7 separate regions of the Homo sapiens genome follow, and all the other regions are linked to region 1. The links are contacts of gene promoters, found by promoter capture Hi-C in blood cells and fetal thymus (Javierre and others, 2016). All regions are on one chromosome and are shown on one strand. Each heading gives the region's core, a stretch centred on a gene start or on the middle of the fragment in contact. The rest is flanking DNA. Distances are from core to core; before and after follow the strand shown.

Region 1 (3,634 bases), core at 1,000-3,499:
CCACCGGCCCGCAGGAGGGAGCGGCGCACTGGGGGCCGCACGGACTCGCCATTGGAGATCGCGATCGGAAGGTGGCGCCACGCGGCCCCTACAGGCCTGGGACTCCCACCCGAGCTCGCAAAGTAGGTCGGGGTCTGAAGCTGGGGGCCTAGAGCAACTAGCTTCTTGGAAAGCGACTGCAATTATTTGGGGTAATATACTCTGTTCCAGAGACGTCCACCCCCCACCTCCCACAAAAAAAAACCCTGCACTTAATTTAAATGTTACGTTATATATACATCCCATCATATACATATATTCACACATAATCACTATGTAACAGTCCAGGAAGAAATTTAATATTTGGGTAAATTACATATTCACACATCTTCACATAAGTAAAACCAGGGTATCCAGACAAAAAAACAATCTACTAACCTATATCTGTTTCCCATAGGTCATATCTGGTCTGGGGGTAAATAAATACTTCTGACCTCACTTACTGTTGTTATTTACAAAAGCCAAGAACAGAAGATGACACTTGGCCATTCCCTGCTGTTCTCAGAGAACAGCAGTTTCCTAAAGTGTCCTTTAAAAACATAAATGGGAGCCAGCATCCAGCAAATCACCGGGCGCTGCGAAATGCCTTCCTAAAAATACAATCTTATCAAAGGTCTCCGAAGGCGTGGAGTTAAAACTACAGCAAATGGCCTTGAACTTGTATTTGCACACAGCCCTGGAGAAAACACCAGAAATAGCACTGCGAGGCCACAATTGTTAAAATGTGATAGGGCTAAATTTAGAAGAACGTGCGTTTCATTTAGGGCAAAAGACACACATTCGGCAGCATGAGCAAACTCCATGCTTACCCGGTTGTCTACTTTCCTGTTTAAAATATCCTTAAGGAAAAAAAAAAAACTGTTATAGTGACATTCTTAAAGGCTGAGACTGTCCTACTTTCTTTGTAGCAAGATTATAAAATCACGTAATTAGCTCCCTCTCTCTATGCTCACTGCCAGCAAATTCGGCAGTTACATAATGCAACATTTCCAGGAAACTATTATGTGATTTGTCTTGTCGTGTCTGAAAAAGCAATGACAATAAGGTGAGAAAAAGGGCTGATCGAATGGAATGCATTAAAATTAGGAAGGTGGGGAGGTAAACGTCACAATGGTTCGTCCCAGATTTAAAAATAACAGCTGAGAACATTGAAAGGGCGAACCCCAGTAGTACCCAAGATCAGAATTCAATGCGAGCAATTCTTGCTTTTAGGTTTTGTAGTATCGTTTTAAAACCTGTTTATTTGGGACGTAATATAGACGTAAATAACGATCTAATATCCAACGCTGCGCCTCAATTACCAAATCATTGCACACATACGCGCATATTCCCACATCAGCCCGCAATTCTTGCCAACATTTCACCGTGGGCAGATTATGCAATGTATGAAAGGACAAATCCCACAACCTTCCCGAGGGCTTGTAAAACACGCTGACGACAAACAGGGTGGAAAACGTCTGTGCAGACACAGCCCCTGACACAAACAAACGCCGCGCAGGCATTCTCCGAATGCCGTCACCGTTCACGCTACCAACCCTTTTTCTCACCAAGCAAATTAAGACTATTCCCCATTCCTCAACCCCCCATTCCTCTCCCCCCTACGCCGCCAGCCCCAGAGAAGGAACGAGAAAGAAAGACACTAGAGAGGAAAGAGCATCTTCCCGCTCGGAGAGGGCTCAGCCTGCCTGGCGCTCTTCTTTACCAAAACATCAATTTTCCTGAAATCAGGAGACATTATGCAACAGCAGCGGGGGGAGAGCGCAAACCAGCCAGGACTACGTGCCGGCGCGAAGGCGCTGCAATCAAAGCAGCCACCTTAAGGTGGCGAGTCCCATCCTGACAAGGCAGCAAAAGTTTATGTAATGAATGCCCCGCGCGCACTCGCCGCCGCTGGCGAGCCCAGCTTACAGCCCGACCCCGCACACAGCGCGGCCCGCACCCCGCGCCCGCCCGCCCGCCCGCAGCGCGCCCTGGGAGCGGTCGCCGGGCCCCCGGCCGGCGGTGGGCGGAGCGCTTACCGTGTTCCTGCTCTCGGGCCGGCGAGGAGAAAGAAAGGGGCGGCCGGGAGTCGGGCCGCCGGCGCTCGGGGCTCGGGCCGGGCCGGGCCTCCGGGGCCGCGGCGGGAGGCGGGCGGCGGCGAGGGCGCGGCGCGGGAGGCGGGCGGGCGCGCCGGGTCCGCGGGCGCCGTGGCCGCGCGGAGAGATGTGTGTTAGTAGGTCAGTTCCGAGCGCCGCGCTACGTCGCCGCCCGCCAGCCCCGCGTGACTGGCGGCCGCGGCCCCAATCGCCGCGCCCGCACCCGCCCCCGGCCCGCCGCCAATGGCCGCGGCCGGCAGGGGCGGGCCGGGGCGGGCACTCCGCGGCCCCGCCCCGCCTCCCCGCCCTCAGCTCCCCCTCCGCGGCGGCGCCACTACCAGCTCGCGTCCCTCCCCGGCCAGGGCCACCGCCGTCCGAGCGCCCGCGAGGGCTGGCGCCCCATTCCCGGCGCAACGAGTGTTGCGCAACGGCCCACGCGGCCGACACGACCGGAGCGAGCCTGCGGAGGAGCCCGGGAGCCCCCCGTCCCACCGCCCCGTCCGCTCTTGGCTCCCTTCACCCTCCCGGTCGCCGCGGTGGCTCTGCGCTCCCCGCGACCCTCACTTGCTCGCAGAGGCGCTTTTTGTCTTCCTGAGAGCCGCAGCCTGCTGGGCTACCTGTTGCCGACTGAGCACTGCGGGTTGCGGCTACCCGGGCGTGGCCCGGACCTCGGCCTCCCCTTCCCCGCACACTCCCGAGAGGAGCCCTCTACCTTGGGGTGGGCAGGAGGGAAGGCGGGGGGTGGCGGCTGGCAAGCTGCCAACACTCGGGGCGCGCTGCGGCGGGGAAGGGGTTGGCGCGGCCGGGCAGCTGCGCAGGGCTGCGCGGCGGAGGCAGCGATTAAAATGTCCCGGCGCCTCTCCCGAGAGCCGCGACGGCCCGGAGCCGGGAGGGAAAGCTCCACGCACAAACACCGCCCCCTGCACAATTAGGGCGAAGATGACGGCTGCAAAGTTGTTGCGTAACACGACTGGGAAACGAGGCTCGCTGAGGTCCATCTACCCACCCCCGCCACGCGGGTGCGGCGTTCCTCGGAGGATGTGAAGGTCCGCGCTCGGGTGCCCCCGCTGGGACGCCCACTGTCGTTTGGTGCTGGGGCTTGAGACGACCGCGCGGGATCTCTTCCTGTGATTTTGAGCTGATAGCTGCTTAGTGTTATTTCTGCGTCTAACTGGATACGGTAGTCTTCTCTCCCAAATTCCCGGGCTACGGAAGAGACGTAAAAAAATGGAAAAAAGAGCACCTAGCCGCGACTTCTTAAGTCGTCGCGCTAGACTGTCAAGGCACGTGGCACACTCCCTGCGTTTACCGATACACGGATAGTGGTCAGTGCTGGCCTTGGCGAAGGGAGCCATGTTCCCGACAGTGACTCACAGGCTTGCCCAAATACGGAGTGTGGCAGGTGGGCAGGACCTCCACCAGCCAGCTCCCTCCTGGTCTCCTTGAACTACGTGGGGGCTGGGCCGAGTGCCTCCACGACTTTCCACTTCTTTTTGCTCCTTTCGTTTTTAAAAAGCAAA
Region 2 (3,689 bases), core at 805-3,304, 490 kb before region 1:
ATTCCCCTGGCCTCCAGCTGGAAATCTGGTTGAATTTTGAGACGTGATGCAGTCCATCCCTCAATGGGCAATGACTTGAAGTCTCAGGTTCTGGAGGTATTGACTCACAGGGTTCAGGCACTGCGGTCCTCGCTGCCAGGTCCCGTCTGTGTTCAGGGAGTTGCTGATGCTATCTCCCAGGAATACTCCATTCTCATGCAGGAGGCTGGGTCTCCTCTTGAGGGGTGTTAGGTGGTACCAACTCACCCCTGGGCCAACAGCAACATCGATGACAACTCAAGCTGTGGCTTCCTCTGAGTCAGGAACTTGTTGGGCAGCCTCACCCCTGAGGCTGGGCTTCATCTGGGGTAGCAGGTCCAGGCCTCGCAGGAACAAGACAAAGATGCTCAGTTTCACTACATCATTCAGGAAGTGCTAACCAGTGCGATAAAACAAGATCATAGCATAAGAAACATAGGTTTTGGAAAAGAAAAGGCTTACTGTTATTCATTGTGGGCAATATACTTAAAGCCAAAAGAAAACCCTGAAAAACAATTAGAAACACTAAGAGATAATAATAATAAAAGGCGGCACTTACAAAATTAATATAAAATAAATAGTTTTTTGATATACAAATAACAACTCTTTAGAAAATATAATGGAAGAAAAATGCCACTCAGAATAACACTAAAAAACCAAAGTCCTAGGAATAAATTTAAGAAATATGAACATGTGATGAGAAGGAAATATTAAGTCCCCAGTGTGAACATAAAAGAAGATTATTTCAATATATAAAAATCTCTTTTTCTTGAATAAAAGGCATAATGTTATAAAGTTGTCCATTCTTCCTATGTACTCTATATCCTAAATACTAATAGAATCTATTAATATGTCCCTGTAATGGAGCTGGAGAAAGTCTAAACAAGAAAAGAGATGAGAGGACTCTTACCAAGTATATATGAGTATTTGTTATAAAGCAGGAGTTGGCCAAGCCAGCTCATGAGCTGTTTCTGTATGTCCCATGAGCAAAGAATGTTTTTTGCAATTTTAAAGCTTTTTTTTTTTTTTGAGACGGAGTCTTGCTCTGTCGCCCAGGCTGGAGTGCAGTGGCGCCATCTCGGCTCACTGCAAGCTCTGCCTCCCAGGTTCACGCCATTCTCCTGCCTCAGCCTCCCAAGTTGCTGGGACTACAGGCGACCACCACTATGCCCGGCTAATTTTTTGTATTTTTAGTAGAGACGAGGTTTCACCATGTTAGCCAGGATGGTCTCAATCTCCTGACCTCGTGATCCGCCTGCCTCGGCCTCCCAAAGTGCTGGGATTACAGGCGTGAGCCACCGCGCCCGGCCCTAAAGCATTTTTTTTTAAAAACTTGTGTGTGACCCTATGAGGCCCATAAAGTCTGATAGATTCACCATCTGGTCTTTTCCAGCAAGAGTTTGCCAATGTCTGTTCTAGAGCATCATTAGTTATAACAGTCTGATAATGGAACAGAATTAGACCACACATCAAGGAAATAATACGCAATACAGAAATAAACAGAAACCAATGACAACTAAGTGTATAGACTAAGCTGCCATTTAAAAATCACCAGCCTGGCCAACATGGTGAAACCCTGTCTCTACTAAAAAAACAAAAATTAGCCAGGTGTGGTGGTGCACACCTGTAGTCCCAGCTACTCGGGAGACTGAGGCAGGAGAATTGCTTGAACCCAGGAGACGGAGATTGCAGTGAGCTGAGATCACTCCACTGCACTGCAGCCTGGCCAACAGAGCAAGACTCTGTCTCAAAAAAGAAAACAAAAAACAAATCACTTAGAAAAGATGGCTTATCAGTATCTCATCTTGGCTCACCTAGATAGCCATTTGGAAGAAAAAACAAAACTGGTTCCCTGTTCTACTACTAACTTTGGAGAAATGGAGCCTTTTCTTAGTTCCACACGAAAAACATTAAAAGAAAGCATTAACAACTCTGACTACATAAAAACCAGTACCTTTTGAGAAAGAAAAATGCCTTAAGCAAATGTAAAAGTCAAATAACCAACTGGTATTTGAACTGAAAGATATATAGAAGAAATAGGACAAATGATTTCTTTAATATAAATAAGTTCCTGTGAATAAATAAAAAGAAACAACTCCATAAAAATGATCTAAAAGTACGAACGAGCTGTTTATGAGGAAACAAAAATGGGCAAGAAACATGTTCAACTCAAACACAAATAAATGTAGATAAAATTATTGTATGTAGTTTTTCTTTTATCAAAATGACAAAAATTTTGGTAATGCCAGTATATGCCATGAAAGGCATTCTGAAGAAACAGTGTTCAGGCTGGGATCTGAAGGGCGTGTGGGAGTTATTTGGGTAGAGGGCGGAAGCATCCCAGATCGAGAGAACACTGTGTCCAAAGGCCTGTGCTGTGGTGGCATGGAGCCTTCTTGTTCAAAGAACTGAGGGGCCATGTGCCCATATTGGATGAGACAAGCTGGACATATGGCAAAAACCTGGCACAGAGGCAGGAATTTTGTCTTTGTGCTAAGAGCCATAAGAAGTACTTGAAAGGAGCCAACAACATACCCAGAGGCGTCTTTGACCCAGTCTCTCTTTCACTATATAAAAATCTCCATCTTTTTCTGGAATAAAAGGCATAATATTATAAAACTGTCCATTCTTCCTATGCACTCTATATCCTAAGCACTAATAGAATCTATTAATATGTCCCTGTAATGGAGCTGGAGAGAGTCTAAACAAGAAAAGAGATGAGAGGGCACTTACCAAGTAGATACAAGTATTTGTTATAAAGCAGGAGCTGGCTTTATAACAGGCAGTTAGAGTGTGAGGAATTGGGGCCAGGTGGGTTTACATGCATAACCTTCTCCAAGAGCAGGATTGATTTAGAAAGTGCCGACTTCCTATCTGCTGTGTAGATCAAAGGTATCAATCCACTTAAAGGGCTTAGTTTAACACACAGCACATGAGAAATGCTCAATATATCCTTGCTATTCTGATGGCTTTCCATCATCTGTCCTGCTAAGCAAAGAAGTCCAAGATGTACTAAAAGTTACAGAAGTGATAAAGAAGTGCTAAAAGTTACAGAATAGTAAGCTTTCTAAAGTCCCACTTGTGTAAAGATAAAGTAAAACAGAAGAATATGCTTGTATATAATTGTATATGCAAAAATATTTCCTTCTTGGGAAGCAGGGGGTGAATAGAGATTATGTTAAACTTTGACACTTAAAACCTAAAAATAACACGTTTATTGTAGCAACCTTGGAGAACAAAGAAGATCACTTGTTATTTAAAGTAGATAGGCTGAATGTCAAACGTGTTTAGGACTTAAAGGAAATCCCTTTAATGAAAGGAAATATGGTTCCAAGTAATTAAATCCATGGGCTGCCTTTGTGCTGTAGTTAGAAAATAATCTAATATGGAGGAGGGAAAGGAGGAAGAAAGGCTGAATTTCAGGGGCAGGACAGCAAATCCGATTCCAGCTAATACTCACCTTCCAGGAGTTTTTTTTAAAGGCCAATGAAGAAATTCCTATCATTAATAATAAAGAACATCCCAACACTAGCATTTCCAATTTATTGTGACCTGTTGCGCATAGAGACTTACTGACTCATGAGAAATGCACCTCTTTTGAAGAGTCTTCTAGATGGATGCATCATTTCTGCACTCAAGATTGTGTTCCATTGTGCAAAGAGCTACTCTAG
Region 3 (3,853 bases), core at 39-2,538, 370 kb before region 1:
CATCTCTAAGCCTCAGAATCCCCAACTCTATACTGCGGACAGTAATAACTACAGTGGTCTTCCCTTATCCACAGGGGACACGTTCCAAGAACTTCGGTAGGTGCCTGAAACCGCGGATAGTACCAACCCCTACATAAAGCGCTCATCTGCACTGTGGCCATAACTTTTGCAGTTGGAGATGCAACAGCAAGAGCAGCATGACTTTGTTTTTCCTTCTTCACAATTTCACAGGACGAAGATTTGTTCTTAAAAAGATCTTAGCAACTTCAGCATACAATACTTTACTTGGCTTACTATTGGAACTTTCATCTTTTCACTTAAAGGAAGCACTTTAAGGCTTTCTTTGGCATATATGAATTGCCATCATCACCACTCTTGCCGTTTGGGGCCATGATTAAATAAAATAAGGGTTTCTTGTGCACAAGCCCTGTAATACCATGACAACTGATCCAATTACCCAGCCAGCTGCTAAGCAACTAATGGGCAGGAGGCAGGGAGGTGCTGGACAAAGGGAGGATGCACATCCCTGCCCTCTGACTGTCAATCCCACGAGGGCAGGGGTCTTCTCTCTGCTGTCCTTCCAGCATCTAGCCCTTTGTGACCACTGAGTAAATATTTGACAAATAAAGGAATGAGTGAGTAAATGATTTCTAAGACTCCTTTCAATTCTGAGTCAATGAGGCACCAGGCTACCCTTGTTTTACCCTAGAGAATGTGTCTTTTAAAAAGACAAAGATGTTCTTTTGGCACAACTAGGCAAGAACAAGAAATAAAAGAAAAACAAGAAGTAAAACTATATTCACAGATGATATGACTTTGTATATAAAGGATTTTAAGTACTTCACAAAGTAATCTATTAGAGGCAATAAACAAAAGCTGAAGGAGCTCATCACTACAAGACCTGCCCCACAAGAAATGCTGAAGGCAATTCTTCAAGTTGAAATGCAAGGGTGCTAAACAATAACATGAAGGCATATGCAAATGTAAATTTGGTAAAGACAAATATGGAAACAAATACATAATACCGTAATACTGTAATAAAAGCTTGTAAATCTCTTTTAACTCTAGTATAGAAGTTAAAAGACAAAAGTATTAAGAATAGCTATAATTAGGCCAGACTCCGTGGCTCATGCCTGTAATCCCAGCACTTTGGGAGGCCAAGGCAGGCGAATCACCTGAGGTCGGGAGTTTGAGACCAGCCTGACCAACATGGAGAAACCTCATCTCTACTAAAAATACAAAATTAGCTGGGCGTGGTGGCGCATGCCTGTAATCTCAGCTACTTGGGAGGCTGAGGCAGGAGAATCGCTTGAACCCAGGAGGTGGAGGTTGCAGTGAGCCAAGATCGCGCCATTGCACCCCAGCCTGGGCAACAAGAGCAAAACTCCGTCTCAAAAAAAAAAAAAAAAAAAGAATAGCTATAATTACCAAAATGTGTTAATGGATATGCAATATATAAGATATAAATTGTGCTATCATTTACATAATGTGGAATGTGGGGAGACTAAGAGTATAGTTTTTGTATATGATTGAAAGCTTGAAATAAGATGATTTACATAAGTAAGCTTTATGATAACCACAAAGAAATTACCTATGGTAGATACACAAAATAAAAAGAGAAAGGAAGCAAAACATATCATTACAAAGAAATCATCAAATCACAAAAGAAGACAGTGAAAAAACAAAAAAGGGACAAAAGAACTACAAAACAAATAAAGCAAATAAAATGACAATAGTCCTTGATTATCAATAATTTCTTTAAATAAAAATGGATTAAACTTCTTAATCAAAAGATATAAAATAGCTGAATGGATTTTAAATAACAATGGATTAGAGATTTAACTGTGCTATCTAGGAGAGACTAACTTTAGATTTAAGGACATACATAGGCTGAAAGTAAAGGGATGGAAAAAAAATATTCCACGCACATGGAAACCAAAAGAGAGTGGGGGTGGCTGTATTTATAACAAACAAAATATGCTTTAAGGTAAAACTGTCCAAAGAGACAAAGAAGGTCAGTGTATAATAATTAAAAGGTCTATTCATTCGGAAGATGTAACAAGTGTAAATATACACTGTATGCACACAACATCAGAGCACCTAAATAGATAACGTTGACAGGTCTGAAGAGAGAAATTGACAGCAATATAATAATAGTAGGAGACTTCAATACCCCACTTTCTGTAATAAATAGAACATCCACACAGAAAATCAGTAAGAAAACAGCGGGCTTTAACAATACTACATGCCAAATGAACCTAATAAACATGTGCAGAATATTTCATCCAATAGCAGCAGAATACACATTCTTCTCAAGCTCAGATGGAACATTCTCCAGGATAGATCACATGTTAGGTCACAAAAATAAGCCTTAACAAATTTAAGAAGATTGAAATCATGTCAAGTATCTTTTTAAACCACAATGGGATAAAACTAGAAATCAATAACAGAAGGAAAACCGAAAAATTCACAAATATGTAGAAACTAAACAACACAATATTGAATAACCATTGAGTAAAAGAAGGAATCGAAAGGAAAATAAGAAAATATCTCAAGACAAATGAAAATGAAAACACAACAAACCAAAACTTACGGGATGCATCAAAAGCAGTTATAAGGGAAAGTTTACAGCAATAAATGCCTACATTAAAAAAGAAAGATCTCAAATCAACAACCTAACTTTAGAGCTCTAGGAACTAGAACAAACTGAGCCTAAGTGAGCAAAGCGAAGGAAATAATAATTATTACAGCAGAAGTAAACAAAACAGAGAACAGAAACACATTTTTAATATCAAGGAAACTAAGTGTTTGGTTTTGGGGAAGATAAATAAAATTGACAACCCCTTAGTTAGACTAAGAAAGAAAGAGAGAAGACTCAATTAAATAAAATCAGAAATAAAAAAGGAGACATTACAACCGATACCATGGAAATAAAAAGAATTATAAGACATTATTAGGAACAAATTTCTGCCAATAAATTGGATAACCCAGAAAAAATGGACAAATTCCTAGAAGCAGGCAACCTACTAATACTGAATCATGAAGAATTAGAAAATCTAAACAGACTAATAATAAGTTAAGAAGATTGAATCAGTAATCAAAAACCTTCCCAAAACAAAATCCCAGGACCACACGACTTCACTGGTGAATTCTACCAAATATTTAAATAATTAGGACCTGTTCTTCTTAAACTCTTCCCCAAAAAATGAAGAAAAGGAAATATTTTCAAACTTATTTTAAGAAGCTATAATTACCTCAATACCAAAGCCAGACAAAGATACTGCAAGAAAAGAAAACTACAGATCCTGTATTTTTACATTCATTCCTGATTAACATAGACGCAAAAACCCTCAATAAAATACTAGCAAATTGAATTCAGCAGCCCATTAAAAGGATCATACATTATGATCAAGTGGGATTTATCCCTGGAATTCAAGGATGATTCAACACATGCAAATCAATAAATGTGATACATCATACTAACAGAATAAAGGATAAAAATCACATGATTATCTCAACAGAAATAGAAAAGCCATTTGAAAAAATTAACACCTTTTCATGATAAAACTTCTCAAAAACCTAGGTATAGAAGAAATTTACCACAACATAATAAAGGCCACATATGAAAAGCCCATCACTAACATCTTACTCAATAGTGAAAACCTGAAAGCTTTTCCTCTAAGATTAGGAACAAGGCAAGGATGCCCACTCTTACCACTTCTATTCAACATAGTACCAGAAGTTCTAGTCAGAACAATTGCTAAAGAAGAAGAAAAAAATGTCCACATTGGAAAGGAAGAAGTAAAATTACATATTTACAGTTGACGTGATATATGTAGAGAAACCTAAAGAC
Region 4 (3,785 bases), core at 215-2,714, 470 kb before region 1:
AAACACTTGAAAAACATATCATTATACCTATTTTCACAGTCCTGCAAACTGAAGTGCAGAAAGGCCAAGTCAGTGGTATGCAAAGGCTCCACAGTCCTGATAGCGCTATAAGAACACACTTGAAAATGTGTTTCTGACAAATGTTCTGATCTGCCTAAAATACTTGAGTTTTTTTGAAAGGAAGAAACCATTGTTGATCTAATATCTAAGGAAGAAAGTGTTCTGTTTTGTTTTTAAATACTGGGAGCTGGTTTTAGGTAAGAAAGTCCGTGTGATATTTGGTAAGGATTACTAATCCTTAGAAAGAGACACAATTGGTGTCAATAAATAAGGCCAATAAGAATAACAAAAATAAATGTTGATGTCTATTAGGAAAAAATAGTCTCGTGACAATGGTTAGGATGAAGCTTCCTGCTGTGTTTACTTAAGGGATTTTCTTCAATTATCTGTGAGGCAAGAAGGCAGAAAACATTGAGTGAAAACACGAAGCCACTGTTAGTCAAGAATTCTACTGTCTCTCAACAATCAGAAACAAAATTCCCTGGGGAAGCCCTTCCCCATATTAATTAGAAAAGTCAGGGAGATGAAATTGAGACTAGAATAATAAGATAAGCATGAAGGCATAGGTGGCCCCAGTGTCCTTACAAACACTCCAGAAAATTGTACCCTATGGAACTGTGCAGAGGTAGGTTTGCAAATCAAACACATGAAATGATGAAATGCTACTAGATATAAGTCAGATTATATGTATTCTTATATTTATGCACTTAATAAGCATTTATTGAGCACCTATTATGTGCCAGGTTCTATGTACTTTGAATACAATGATGCTATCCTCTAAGAATGTAAAATAAACTTATAAGTGCTGCAATCGTAATTACTTAAAATATTGACATATATTGAATGTATATTTAATTATATTTCAGGTTATAATTATAACCATTCTTTTTTTTTTTTTTTTTTTTTTTTAGACAGAGTCTCAACTCTGTCGCCCAGGCTGGAGTGCAGTGGCGCAATCTTGGCTAATTGCAAGCTCTGCCTCCCGGGTTCACACCATTCTCCTCCCTCAGCCTCCCAAGTAGCTGGAACTACAGGTGCCTGCCGCCACGCCCAGCTAATTTTTTGTATTTTTAGTAGAGACGGGGTTTCTCCGTGTTAGCCAGGATGGTCTCGATCTCCTGACCTCGTGATCCGCCCACCTCGGCCTCCCAAAGTGCTGGGATTACAGGCGTGAGGCACCACGCCTGGCCAATTATAACCATTCTTATACTTTTGTTTTAATTATAAATGGGAGTTTCATAGAAAAATTGCCATTTGGCCTTATTCACCTCAATTCATCACTTCTTGATTAAATTTATCCATCAGGTTTATGTAGCCTTAGCAAGTACAATAATTCTCCTAATGGGAACTGCTTCAAGTGAAGAAGGAGGAAGCGCTATCTAGGAGGAAGCACTCAGTCTCTGTGATGTATTTGCAAATCCATTCCTACTAACAAATAGTGGCTGTAAGAAAGACATCAATGAATACATCTAATCTGTCTTCAGGTTGTTTGTGAAGGACTAGGATAGATGTGGGGGTCCAATAAGGTAGAGGGGATCAACTGTACACTAAAACAAGTTATTCCAAATGTAGTCTAAACTTCACAATATCTGGTTTTAACATGATAGCACAAAATCTTTGTTTTCTTCCTTTCCTTAATTTCTTGGCTATTTTGCCCAACGATATTTCTTTCTGGCAAATCACCCAATGGCAACAAGGAATATAGGGAACAGAAATGAAAACTGCATCTCTGATGAGCCTAAAGATGGTTAAACCCGCAAACTCTGACATAAGAGGGAGAATGGCTAAGAGCAAGGTCAAAAGGGATGTCAGAAGACATAGGGAGGGAAGGCATCAGAAACCTGGGAGAAGGCCTCTCAGGGGAAGTGGTGTGTCTGAGCTTCCAGCCCACCCATCCCTATGCAACTGGGCAGGAAACAGAATGTGAGATGTGCTTTACTATATAACACAGTTTGCTCAGGTACTTAAAAAACTGGTGTGATTTTGGCATCAGAAAAACAAGCCATATTTGAAAACTGCCAAAGCAAACACACAAGCAAGCAAACAATCCCTATGATCTGGACATTCTTTTTTTTTTTTTTTTTTTTGAGACAGAGTCTTGCTCTGTCGCCCAGGCTGGAGTGCAGTGGTGCAATCTCGGCTCACTGCAAGCTCACCACCTCCCGGGTTCACGCCATTCTCCTGCCTCAGCCTCCCAAGTAGCTGGGACTACAGGTGCCTGCCACCACACCCGGCCAATATTTTGTATTTTCAGCAGAGAAGGGGTTTCACCATGTTAGCCAGGATGGTCTCGATCTCCCGACCTCGTGATCCGCCTGCCTCGGCCTCCAAAAGTGCTGGGATTACAGGCGTGAGCCACCGTGCCTGGCCGATCTGGACATTCTTAACCCATATCTTAACCAACTCCTAACTCAAAAAGAAAACTAAAACCAAATAGCAGAATGTAGACTATGACCATGATAAAAGCTTGACAAACCAGAACCTATGGGTTATCCCTAAAGAAGTGCTCAGAAGAAATTTCAGGGCCTGGAATAATGTGCTATATTCATGCATTTGATCAATGAACAAATACATTGCATACCTATTCTATGTCAGGCATTATTCTAGCAGTACATAAAACAGGTTGAAACGCCTGTCTCTGTGGAGTGTGCATCCTAGTGAAGGAAATAAATAAGTACTGTATTTACGTAGTAGGTCATGCAGTGTTAGTGTTAGAGGAGAAAATAAATTAGGAAAGGAACTAAAATGTGCATAGTGGGTTTGAATAAGGCGGTTAGGAAGGCCTAATAGAGAAGGATACATCTGAGTAAAGATGTAAATGGGTGAGAAGTGTGTCTCTCTGGGGGAGAAAAGGCTCCCTGCCGAGGAAAGAAAACTTGCAAAGGCCCAGAGGCTTGCAAAGGTCTGAGGCTTCGGAACTACTTGCTTCTAAAAGAACACTCCATGTTCCTCTCCCTTCCATGTACCTTGAGAGTGCCTCTAACTGCTGGCATCTAAACCAGAGCCCTCTAGCAGAGATTTGGGGAAATGTAGCTCCTAGGCAACCATGTCCTGGAGTACACGGGAAAACATAGAAAATACACACCCAGCATGGGTTGTAGCTGGAGATGGCTGTGAAGTCAAAAATTTGCTGTTGCTGTTGTTGTTTTTATTTTAAATGATAAACATTAAAGTGCACTGTTATGCTGATGTTAATGTCTCACTGTTGTGGGAAATTTTTATTATGCAGGAGAAGGGAAAATTTTCTAGAGCAAAATGCTAGAAAGCATAGGATCTAGCAAACAAGAGGAAAGGTTTTTCTAGATAAGAATGGACAGGGAGCATGTTGATTTCTGTGGTGGAAGTTTGCTGTGATTACTCCTTTCATTTCTTTCCCCCAGTGAAATAGGAAGCAAGGTGATTGGCTGAGAGAGAAGACAGAGAGGAAGTTTTGGAGGTGTAAAGACAGGAGTCATGAAATGATCATGTGGGACATGAGATTAATTTGGCCAGGAAACGTGAAGTGATGGCAGGAAACAGCGAGGACCCATTTGATACTATGAAATTAAAGTGAGGCCAGTAGCATACTGGAGGTTATTTTTCCTGCCACCAGCAGGTGCATGAATGCAGTGCAGAGTGGTGGAAAGTTCCCTGGTGAACTTCAGAGCATCCAGCAATGCTGGCTGTGACAGCACAGGCATTGGCCAGCCAGGACGGACTATGGCTGTACTACCAAGAACCAGCCA
Region 5 (3,386 bases), core at 817-3,316, 450 kb before region 1:
CTCAGCCAGCTTAAGGCATCTGCTCCAATGGTCTCCATGACAACCCTGAAGAGCCTGCAGTGAGCAGCCAGCAGAACTTGCCAGCCGAGAGGCTCATCCCACTAATTGGATAATGTATATGAAAGAGCTGATCACACCTGGCACCTGAATCAAAGGGTGAACTCACCAGACATGAATCATGCCAGCCTGTTAAGTAGGTACAAGCGTTTTTATTCCTGGCCATAGGAGCAGCCTTGCTTGTAATTAACCATCATCCCTAATATCTGTCTAATGCCCATAACACCCCCGAGAGGAGTTTTGTCATTCTTATTTTGTAAATGAGTAAGATACAGAACTTAATCAGAACTCAAGGATTCTTATTTGGTGGGCTGTTTAAGCTGGAGTAAATGTTTGTTTTTTACTGACCATCATGATGTCAACATTGCCTTTAAAAAACAGGGAATAGAAGAAGAAAAGGAAAAAAGGAGGGAGGGAGAAAGAGAGAAGGAAAAAAGGAAAGAGAAAATGGTGATTAGATGGTGTGGTGTGGAATCAACATAAGGTTACCAAGTGTGTATGATTTCACAGATGTTAAATACCATGACTACTGCTATTAACTACTCCCGCCACATCACCACATCTGCAGAATCTAAGACAAGAATGTGAGAAAAAACAATGACAGTCCTAAAGGACAATTGGCAACTTGGATCACCATCCCCCCAGGGTCCCCATTTTCCTAATTTCCACTTAGAGTAGTTACAACTTGAGCATTCCCACACATAGAAATCAAAGGGCCAGGCCTCAGCACCAGGCTGCACCCAGTACAGCCAGACTCCCTTCTTGCTTCATTACAGTGGGCTTGCATTTGCCTCCAAGGATGTCCAGGGCTCTGGAAACCAAACCTTCCAGCCTTTGGACTTTTTCAGCTACAAAATATGGATCAAGTATGAACTAGTAACAACCCATTAAAATATATGTGTATGGTTTGGAAAAGATCATGTATTTTAAAGTGAAAGCAAAGACTTAGCACTGAGTAAAAGTTAAATATTTTTGTTCAATTCAGTCTGAAAATAGAAAAACAGAAAGTGGTGTCTAAGAGCTTATGGGCATGAAGGAAATCAAGCTTGGGCAAAACAATCTTCAGTGAAATTTTATAGCTGACTCACAAATCCTTACAAGGCAGAGGGTGTTAGTATTAGGGATACGAGGCAGCGCTATTAATTGTGCTATTATGCACCTGGTGAAATTTTAGGAAGGTAAATACGTGAAAGAGGACCACTGAGCCTGAGCTTTGCATTAAGGGATAACACTGCTCTTCATCCCGGGAGGGCAGATGTCTTGATCCTGGCTTTATGATGGCATGACACACACATCCCTCAACACCTGACTCACTTCGTTGGCCCTGCTGATGTCCACAGGCAGCCACATGTGATGGCCTCAGTGCTGAGTGGAGAAACGCCTGCGGCTTTGGGAAGGACTTGCTGCAGCCTGCTCCTACCCCAGCCAGCCTCCTTCCAGCCCCATTGTTCTCGACACATAAGAGGCCTGGCAAGTCTCAACCCGGGTGTAAAGCGGCATCCCTTACCCTAGAAATACAGAAGTCATTTTTTTCTAGTAGCTAAGAAAGGCCTGGCGCTGCATTACAAGAGTTCATTCACATAAACAGTGAACGCTAGAAATCGAATTACACTTGGATGCTTCCTTGGGGGATTCTGTTATTTGTTTGATTGTCCCCATATATTTTGATGGGAAACGTGGTCTATGTTCACTCAGACCTACACAAAATAACCATAGCTACCGTGTATTAAGTACCTGCTATGGGACAGGTGGCTTATATGCATTTTTTATTCATGGTTACTTTAGTCAGTAAAGAATGAAGGCCAGGTGTGGTGGCTCATGCATATAATCCCAGCACGCTGGCAGGCCAAGGCAGGAAGATCACCTGAGGTTGGGAGTTTGAGACCAGCCTGACCAACGTGGAAAGGTGAGGAAACTGAGGCACAGCCAGACAACCTGCCACAGGGATGGCAGAGCAGGTTGGGGACAGCCCAGGCTACCTCCATCTTATGACAATTCTTCAAGAAGATGGGCATGGAAAATGCAAAATTATCTGCAGGAATATTGCAATCTTGCTCAGAAGAGGAGGAGGAAGATAAGCGGCAGAGTCCCTTTAAATGCTCTGGTGCCCATGGCCAATCTAAACCACTCTGGGCCTGCTTCAAAGGCCTCCAGAGAGGCTGACGGCCAGCAGGCCTCACTGTGGGTCAGCTCCAGCCCTGTGCCTTCCAGCACTTTCTTATCAGGAGGGTGAAGAGCTGGCTGAGAAGGGTGGCCAAAGAAACAATCACACAATGGCTGCCCCACAGTGTGGACATATGTGCCCTCTAACTGAGCTGATCAAATCAACTCTGAGAATGCAGCTAGGTTTTTAGGAGTGGTTGAATCTAGTTAATAGGTGATTAAAAAAGTAATCAATATTTATGGTTTAGTCCCATCTCCAGATTTACGTAGGCAGTCTCGGGATTCAAAGTGCTCAGAAGGCGCTGACATCGGATGTTGTAAAGGGGAATAGAGTGGGAATAGGATTCCGCATCCTCTGAGGTGTGATGGAAGAAATGATACAGCAAGCAGCTGTCCTCGCCTTTGGCTGTGCTGCAGTCACTGTGAGGCTGTGAGATTCCACACACCTGGCTGCACCCAGACCCATTCAGCCCGCAGATCCAAGACAGATGGCACCCCGGCACCCGTGTTCTTAATCCCCAAGGGTGGCACTGCCTCACAAGGCTGGGGATCCTGGTGTCCTGTCTTACAGGTGCAAGCATAGATGAGAGTCCTGGCCACGCCTGCCATTCAGGCAGAAAGGCTCTGCTACCAAGAATCAGAAATCAAGTTCTTTCGTAGTTAAAAAAGAAAAAAGAAAAGCAGAACTAGCATCACCAACAAGGCTAGTTTCCACCCCCCACCTATGGCAACTATGAAACTGTCTCACCAGAAAAAAATGAAAAACTGACAGCCAGAAACCTTTTTACCCCTTTTGTTTCATGAGCGGTAGAAAGCTTATGACCCACAGGAAAAAAGAAACTGGAACCAGTAGCAGAAAGGGAGCTGGGGTGGTCTCCAAGCTCTGGAGGGGCAGAGCAGGACACAAAGCTGCATTACTCATGAGCCCACCCAGGAACTGTGGCTCCCTCTGGTCGGAGGGCTTGTCTCTGGGCAACTGGGTCCCCCTTTAACTGAACATATGTAGGCCACTTGTCTGAGCACAGGGGTAGCTAGACCTCAAAAAGTCTCATAAGCAAATGAAAATTATAGGGGTGAGAAGTGAGAAAGGAAGAATCACATTTCACACAACTGCTATAGAAATGCCAAGCCAGGAGAACGGCGTGAACCCGGGAGGTGGAGCTTGC
Region 6 (3,351 bases), core at 647-3,146, 430 kb before region 1:
CCATTGCACTGGACACAGATGGCTGCCTTGAGAGTCAGGGCTCCTATGGTACATATGTCTTTATTTTATAAGCAGGATGACCATATTTTCTGAACCACAGACCCAGGAATGTGGTTTGACAATTATAAATGCAATCAGGAGGCAAGAAGACCGAATATTTTAAATCAGCACTACCCCAGAAAATACGGAAATTATACTGGTTGTGCTTACTGTCTGTCGTGTTTTATAAATAAACCTTAGACAATCTACGTACCCTTCATGTTTCTACTCCTTTGTTAGTAATAAACTACTACATCCTTCACAGATTGTGGAGATTAAATGAGATAATTCACACATAATCAGGAGACTATATGGCACATTGTAGAACTGCTCCATAAATATTAGCTAATTACATTTTTATAGTTGCTATCTCTTTATGTCCCTTTCATATACCTTAAGTACAGTAAGTGTTCAATAAATAGTTGTTTATGGAAGTTAAGGTTGTTTGTTGGGATTATGGAGTCTATTAGTTGGCTATTGTTGTGTAACAAATTACCATAAACTTAATGGCTTCAAACAACTTCCATTCATTATCTCACAGTTCTGTAGGTCAGAAGTCCAAGTGGGCTCAACTGGGGTCTCTACTTAGGGTCTTTCAGGGCTGAAATTTTGGCTGGGCTGGGCTCTAACCAAGGTTCTGAGGAAGAGTCTGCTTTTAAGCTTGTTCAGGTTGATGGGAGAATTCCATTTTTTGCTATTGCTTGACTGACTTCTCCATTTCTTTGTTAGCTGTCAGTCAAGGGCCATTCTCAGCTCCTAAGGCCATTTGCATTCTTTGCTCCATGGCCTCCTCTATCTTCAAAGCCAGTAATTGTTCATCAAATACTTCTCATACTTGGAATCTCTCTGACTTCCTCTTCTTCTACCAATCAGATAAAACTCCACTTTAAAAAAATAGATTTAGGAGGTACAAGTGCAGTATTGTTACATGTATGTGGATATATTTCATCATGGTGAAATCTGGACTTTTGCGTACACGTCACTCAAATAGTGAACATTGTACCAAATAGGTAGTTTTTTAACCTTCACCCCATTCCCATCTCCTCATCTTTTGGAGTCTCTAACATCTGCTATTCCACTTTATATGTCCATGCATACCCAGTGTGTAGTTCCCACTTACAAGTGAGAACATGCAGTATTTAACTTTCCGTTTCTGAGTTATTTCACTTATGATAATGATTCCAGGTCCATCTATGTAAAACTCTATATTTAAAGGGCTCATATGGTTAGGTTAGGCCCACCCAGATTATATTTTTATTTTAACATCAACTCATTAGTGACCGTAACCACATAGGCAGGATTTCTTTGCTATATCACTTAACCTAATCATGGATGCTGCAATGGGGGCAGAGATCATTAGGGCCACCTACAGTTCTGTCCACCAGAGTACAAACTCTGGCCCCATAATTCACTCTCACTTGCAGAAAACATTTACCTGCTCCCCAAGGTTTCCAACAGTCTCATCCCATTATCACACTAGATAAAGTCCAGAATCTCACCAGCTCAAAAGCCCAAAACTCATTATCTACTTATCTGAATCAGGTGTAGATAAAGCTTCTGAGTGTCACCCATTAAGTACAGCTCCAGGGGCACAATTTGTCTCCACCTACACACCTGTGAAATAAAAGACACAAGGTATCTTTCTCCAATACTCCCAACACACAATGGTGGAAAGAATAACAGTTATAGAACTCAAGTCCAAAATTGGGGAAATGGAAGGTAAAAAGGAGTCATTTGTTTCAATCTGTTTTGAAACCCAGCTGGGCAAAATCCACCAGGTCTCAAAGCCAGGTAACCTGTGTCTCTCAGCTGCTCTGGGCTTTCATCTTCAACTTCTGGGCTCCTGCTTTAGCTCTTAGAGTCATGCTCCGTTTTTCACAAAAGGTGACAGGTGTTTGCAGCTGGGGAATTTTATCAGTCTGCTTTTGCCATTTTGTAATATCTATATTCCATTTAGTCCTAGTTGGCATCTTTATTTTCTGCTAATCTGTTTTGCTAAAATATTTCCACTAATACAATGTTTTTTTCTAAAGTGTGTGGGCCTTGTGTGTATTTTCACTGGGTTTCTCTGCATTAGACAAAAGCTATACACACAAATCTTTCTCTAATAATCTCTTCTCTATCTTTGGCTTCTGCTTGGAGTGCTGAACACCAGTGTTTTTAAGCTTCCCAGAGGCTCTCTGGTTTGATTAGAAGATCTACATGGAACACTCTTAATCCCTTGGAAGAGTCATTATGTGGCTGAATACACAAGACCTCTGAGCTTTCCAGGGTTTCAGCAAAGAGCTGCACAAACACATATTCAGCCTTTTCTCTATGTCATAATTTTGGCATCCATCTCTGACTTCTAGGGGTATTTTTTGCCACCTGGAGAGGCTAAACTTTTGAAATTATCAAGTCGTTGTCCCTTCAATAAGTCTTCCTTCAATATGTCTCTCTTCTATTACATTTTAACATAAAAAGCAAGAAAAAAACAAGCAGCACCTTCAACACTTTGCCTGGAAATTTCCTTAGCTATATATTCCAGTTTATTACTTATGAGTTCTGCTTTTTATGTAACAACTGGACACAATTTCACTAAACTTTCTGCAATTATATAACAAGGATCTCTTTTCTTCAGGTTTCCAATAACGTGTTTCTCACTTCCTTCTTGGCCCATGTCAGTAGTATCCTTAAAGTCCAGATTTCTACTAGCAATCTGTTTAAAGTGATTCAGCTTTTTCTATAATGCTCCTCACTTTTTTCTGAGACTTCACTGGCAGAGTCTTTAACACACATATCTCAGTCAACCAATCAAACTATTAGAGTCCTTTCTAACCCATCACTTTAAAACACTGAGTCCATACTCTCAGTGAGCCTGTATCAGTAATTTCAGACTGATACAACTTTATATTCCTTCCACTTTGATGCCACACCCTTAAGATCCATTCCCACACATATTCCCCAGGTTTCTGTCACTATAAGCTAGAAACATCACATAGTTCTTTTGGTGTCCATCACACCTCTCTGTGGGTCACAACTTGTACTTCACCTTAGGATCTACTGGGACTTGAGCCTCACGATAGGTCTCTAGGTCCAGAGGAGGATCAGCAGTGCCTATAGGGTCACTAGGTCAGAAAAGCTCATCATAAGTCTTCAGTAAAGGGGGGATAACCTCAGGCAGGGGGAAGAAGCTGCTTCTACTGTTGTACTGGGGGTCCCCAAGACCACTCCCCACCTCAGTGATTATCTAGGAGGACTCAGCATACAGTTGTACTCACTGTTATAATGTATTACCTCAAAAGGATAAAAAAGCAAAATCAGCAAAGAAAA
Region 7 (3,619 bases), core at 910-3,409, 410 kb before region 1:
CCAAACTAATGAAAGATATTTCATTGAACACAATTTATGCCCCTTATCAGATGCATTCAGCCTCTCCTGACTCCAGGGACCCGCACCCCTTGTTTGCAGAGGTCCCCAGCTGCTTCTGCCCCAGCTGCCACCACATCACCTCCAGGCCCATTGAGGTCTTGGCCATATTCCATGAGGTGAGCCCAGCTTCTCCTTGTCCCATGGAGCTGTTTGATCACTGCTCAGTTAATCTGGAAAATAATAATGAAACGCTAATTAGAAAATTCCCATATGTTTGGAAGGTAAGGGATAAATTTCTAAAGCACTCAAGGATCAATGAAGACATTACAATGGAAATTAGGAATTATTTTGAACTTGATAACAAAAATCTAAACACTTGTGAGATGCAGCTAACACGGTGCTTAGAGGGAAATTTTAAAACTTAAACAGATACATGAAGGAACATAAATAACTAAATACCAAGTGGTCTAAGTATCCATCTAAAGAAATTAGAATGAGATTACCAAATTAATTTTTTTTTAAAAAAAGGCAAAGTTGGAGAAAGAGAATAAAATGAGAGGACAGAAATTTATGTAATAGAAAATAGACATCTAATACAAAGGCTCAATAAAGCGAAAGTTCTTTCTTTGAAAGAAGCAACTTGTCAAACTCCTGCTAAGACTTATCAATGTAAAAAAGAGGACACAAATCCCAAGAATCAGAAATGGAGGTCAGGAGGGGGGCACATCACTATAGCTTCTGGAGATAGGAATGTGATAGTAAGATGATAATTACAATAAACCAATAAACTTAAATTTTTAAGAGAAAAGTAAACAAATTCCTAGGAAACTCCAACTCACCAAAGCTGACTCCAGAAGAAATAATAAACAAGGATAATCCTTTAATATTGAAGAAATTAACACCATAAATTAAAACCTTCTCTTAGAGAAAACTCCGGACCCAAATGGCTGCCCAGTGAAAAACTAATGCAAATCTTACACAAACTCCTCCAGAGAACAGAAATCAATGAAACCCCCAGGAACCTGTTTTCTGAAGCCTGCATGACCTTGACACCAAAACCAAGCAACATCATTGTAAGAAAGGAAAAGAACAGGCAAATTCCTCTCATATATATAGATGCAAAAATACTTTTTACAGGGAAGGGAAGGAAGGTGAAGGGATGAAGAAAAGTTGATTCATGTGTACAAGAATATCGTTAGAAGGAATAACTTCTAGTATTCTATAGAACAGCAGAGAAATTATAGTTAACAATAATTTATTGCATATTTCAAAATGGCTAGAAGAGAAGAATTGTAATGTTCCCAACACAAAGAAAATATAGTCTTGAGATGGTGGATATTGCAGTTACCGTGATTTGATCATTACATAATGGATACAGGTATCAAAATATCACATGTAGCCCCAAAATATGTATAGCCATGATATATCAACAAAAATACAAACAACATTTTTTTTAAATAAACGAGTGATGATTGAGAGAGACAGGAGACTTTCGAGAGCAAAGTGGCAGGGTCCTCTTCACTGTGGAGGTTTGTCAGGAGGTCAACTTTGGCTGGCTGGTGTGGAGCATTCATAGAGTGTCCTGTCCTCCCTCACCACCTCCTGCCCAGCAGCCTGTATCACATAGGCCTTGTTGCCATCTGTGGTCTGACTCCACCCGCTTTTATTTGTGGTTTGGGAGACACCTTATCAACTCATTTTGTTATGTTATTCATAGATAATGAGTTTTTATTATTTCAATTGCTCTGGTTGGATTTGTTGAGGGTTTCCAGAACATTCACAATTATGCCACCACTGCTGCCTTCTTATGCCTTCTTACTCAGGGTTTAACCCACGCCTTTAATATCAATGCTAGTGCACAGTATGTATGCTGCATTGTTTTTACAGCAATTCCACCATGGATAGATATTCAGATTGTGTTCTGTGTTTTTCTGTTACAATAAATGCACGAGAATATCTTTGGGCATATTTCTATTTTTTTAATTTTTGTAAAACATATTGCTAAAAGTGGGATTTCTCCATCATAGAGTTAACAGATACTGTCAGATTACTTCCTCTAACATTTGGGGCAATGCACACTCCCATCTGTAAAATCAGGGAGTACAGTTTCTCTAAATCCTTTCCAATATTGGATCCTATAAACTTTCTCTAATTTGTTAAAATTTGATAGTAAATTTGGCATTTTGTTGTTTTAATTTTAATTGTCCTCATACTAATGAGGTCGAGAGTTTTAATTTTCTCTTACTTTTTGCATTTTCTCTTGCCTGTTCATATCCTTTGATACTTTTCAACTGGACCTTTATTTTTCCTTTTCTGAAGAAGTTCTTTGTATATGAGAGATATTAAACCTTTCTCCACATATAGTTCAAATGTTTTACCCTGTCACTTGCTATTTGACTCTCTCTGTTTTTTTGCCATATAGAAATGATTAACTTCCATCGTGAAACCAGCCTCTGTCTGCCTGTATGTCCTTTGAGTTTTGTTTGTTGCTTGACAAGGCCTTTTTCACCCCAAGATTAGGCAACATTCTTCTATATTTTCTTCTAATACTTGTATGGGTTTGTTTTACACTTAGTTATTTGATATGGTTTGGATCTGTGTCCCCACCCAAATCTCATTTTCAATTGTAATACCCAATGTTTGGCAGTGGGGCCTGGTGGGAGGTAATTGGATCACAGGGATGGTTTCTCACGGTTAAGCATCATCCCCTTGGTGCTGTCTCATGATAGAGTTCTCATGAGATCTGGTTGTTTAAAAGTGTGTGGCACCTCCCTGCTCTCTCTCTTGCTCCTGCTCCTGTCGTGTAAGACATGCCTACTCTCCCTTTGCCTTCCGCCATGATTGTAAGTTTCCTGAGGCCTCCCCGACCATGCTTCTTGTGCAGCCTGCAGAACTGTGAGCCAATTAAATCTCTTTTCTTTATAAATTACCCAGTCTCGGGGTATTTCTTTACAGCCGTGCAAAAATGAACTAATACATTATTTAAACTTGGACTTTTTGTGCACGGAACAAGGTAGGAGTCTATCTTTGTTTTCTTTCAAGTGACTGATTGTTGTTTACTTAGAATTAATTCATTTCCACCTCCTCCTTACTAACGAAATCTCAAACTTGTTCAGAACATAAACTCTCTGCCATATTCTTCAGAGAAAGATAATCCTAATCCAGAGATTACATTAGGTTGTCTAAGCTCATAGCTCTTTCCAGAGACTGGCTCAAAAATTGGCACGTGAACCAATTCTGGTGGAAAAGATGTGAGGAGTGCTGTGCTGGGGGATTTGGGGAAGGTTCTCCCTTGCTCTTCTGGGTCCACGTGACATGCTATCATCTCTCTTCCTCAGAGAAGGGGCCCTGAGTGGGTGTGAGGCCTGGGGGTGCTATGGCATCTGCCCGCCTATGCAGAAGGGTCTGGCACAGAAGAGGCACCACTGAGAGACTCTCTGGGAGTGGAGGCAGAGCCATCAGAAACCCTGTTCTGAAGGCCTGCATCTCTACGGTTCCATCCTCCTTAAAACTGAGGAACAGCCTTCCTTTATGTCTAAATGTGTCTCGTTAAATTCATTTTCATTTACTTGATAGCTTTTATTGTTATTATACATTGGCAGTTTTTCATTTAATTTCT

The links. The method cuts DNA at HindIII sites, captures the fragments that hold promoters and counts their contacts. A CHiCAGO score of 5 or more calls a contact.
Region 2: a fragment that was not itself captured here is called in contact with the fragment with the promoter of NFIL3 in region 1 in 6 of 17 cell types (naive CD8 T cells, activated CD4 T cells, non-activated CD4 T cells and 3 more); the score reaches 7.3 in naive CD8 T cells.
Region 3: a contact is called between a fragment that was not itself captured here and the fragment with the promoter of NFIL3 in region 1, in 5 of 17 cell types (megakaryocytes, total CD4 T cells, monocytes and 2 more). The highest score is 6.6, in megakaryocytes.
Region 4: a contact is called between a fragment that was not itself captured here and the fragment with the promoter of NFIL3 in region 1, in 3 of 17 cell types (endothelial precursors, naive B cells and naive CD8 T cells). The highest score is 8.0, in endothelial precursors.
Region 5: a contact is called between a fragment that was not itself captured here and the fragment with the promoter of NFIL3 in region 1, in 6 of 17 cell types (endothelial precursors, activated CD4 T cells, M0 macrophages and 3 more). The highest score is 11.1, in endothelial precursors.
Region 6: a contact is called between a fragment that was not itself captured here and the fragment with the promoter of NFIL3 in region 1, in 8 of 17 cell types (endothelial precursors, activated CD4 T cells, M2 macrophages and 5 more). The highest score is 14.8, in endothelial precursors.
Region 7: a fragment that was not itself captured here is called in contact with the fragment with the promoter of NFIL3 in region 1 in 10 of 17 cell types (endothelial precursors, activated CD4 T cells, M0 macrophages and 7 more); the score reaches 10.2 in endothelial precursors.

What each region holds. Positions count from the first base shown.
Region 1 is chr9:91,421,583-91,425,216 of GRCh38, forward strand. NFIL3 (nuclear factor, interleukin 3 regulated) reads right to left here and starts at 2,250. Exons shown (of 2, transcript NM_005384.3): 1 at 2,058-2,250. It overlaps LOC105376146 (synapsin-1), which reads left to right and starts at 2,451. Exons shown (of 2, transcript NR_188612.1): 1 at 2,451-3,634. It overlaps LOC124902209 (a long non-coding RNA gene), which reads left to right and starts at 40. Exons shown (of 2, transcript XR_007061661.1): 1 at 40-122; 2 at 437-477. RefSeq lists a silencer at 2,188-2,587. The HindIII fragment of the contact is 22,022 bases long and covers 1-3,634 here.
Region 2 is chr9:90,927,388-90,931,076 of GRCh38, forward strand. LOC105379829 (a long non-coding RNA gene) reads right to left here. Exons shown (of 4, transcript XR_001746828.2): 3 at 3,592-3,689; 4 at 1-362. Among named protein-coding and RNA genes, the nearest start is that of LINC02957, 68 kb to the right of the region's middle. The HindIII fragment of the contact is 2,049 bases long and covers 1,031-3,079 here.
Region 3 is chr9:91,048,386-91,052,238 of GRCh38, forward strand. No RefSeq gene overlaps it. Among named protein-coding and RNA genes, the nearest start is that of LINC02957, 53 kb to the left of the region's middle. The HindIII fragment of the contact is 492 bases long and covers 1,043-1,534 here.
Region 4 is chr9:90,950,346-90,954,130 of GRCh38, forward strand. The region is part of intron 1 of LOC105379829 (a long non-coding RNA gene); the gene reads right to left. Among named protein-coding and RNA genes, the nearest start is that of LINC02957, 45 kb to the right of the region's middle. The HindIII fragment of the contact is 2,119 bases long and covers 406-2,524 here.
Region 5 is chr9:90,969,384-90,972,769 of GRCh38, forward strand. No RefSeq gene overlaps it. Among named protein-coding and RNA genes, the nearest start is that of LINC02957, 26 kb to the right of the region's middle. The HindIII fragment of the contact is 1,933 bases long and covers 1,101-3,033 here.
Region 6 is chr9:90,988,616-90,991,966 of GRCh38, forward strand. No RefSeq gene overlaps it. Among named protein-coding and RNA genes, the nearest start is that of LINC02957, 6.7 kb to the right of the region's middle. The HindIII fragment of the contact is 611 bases long and covers 1,592-2,202 here.
Region 7 is chr9:91,007,210-91,010,828 of GRCh38, forward strand. No RefSeq gene overlaps it. Among named protein-coding and RNA genes, the nearest start is that of LINC02957, 12 kb to the left of the region's middle. The HindIII fragment of the contact is 4,761 bases long and covers 1-3,619 here.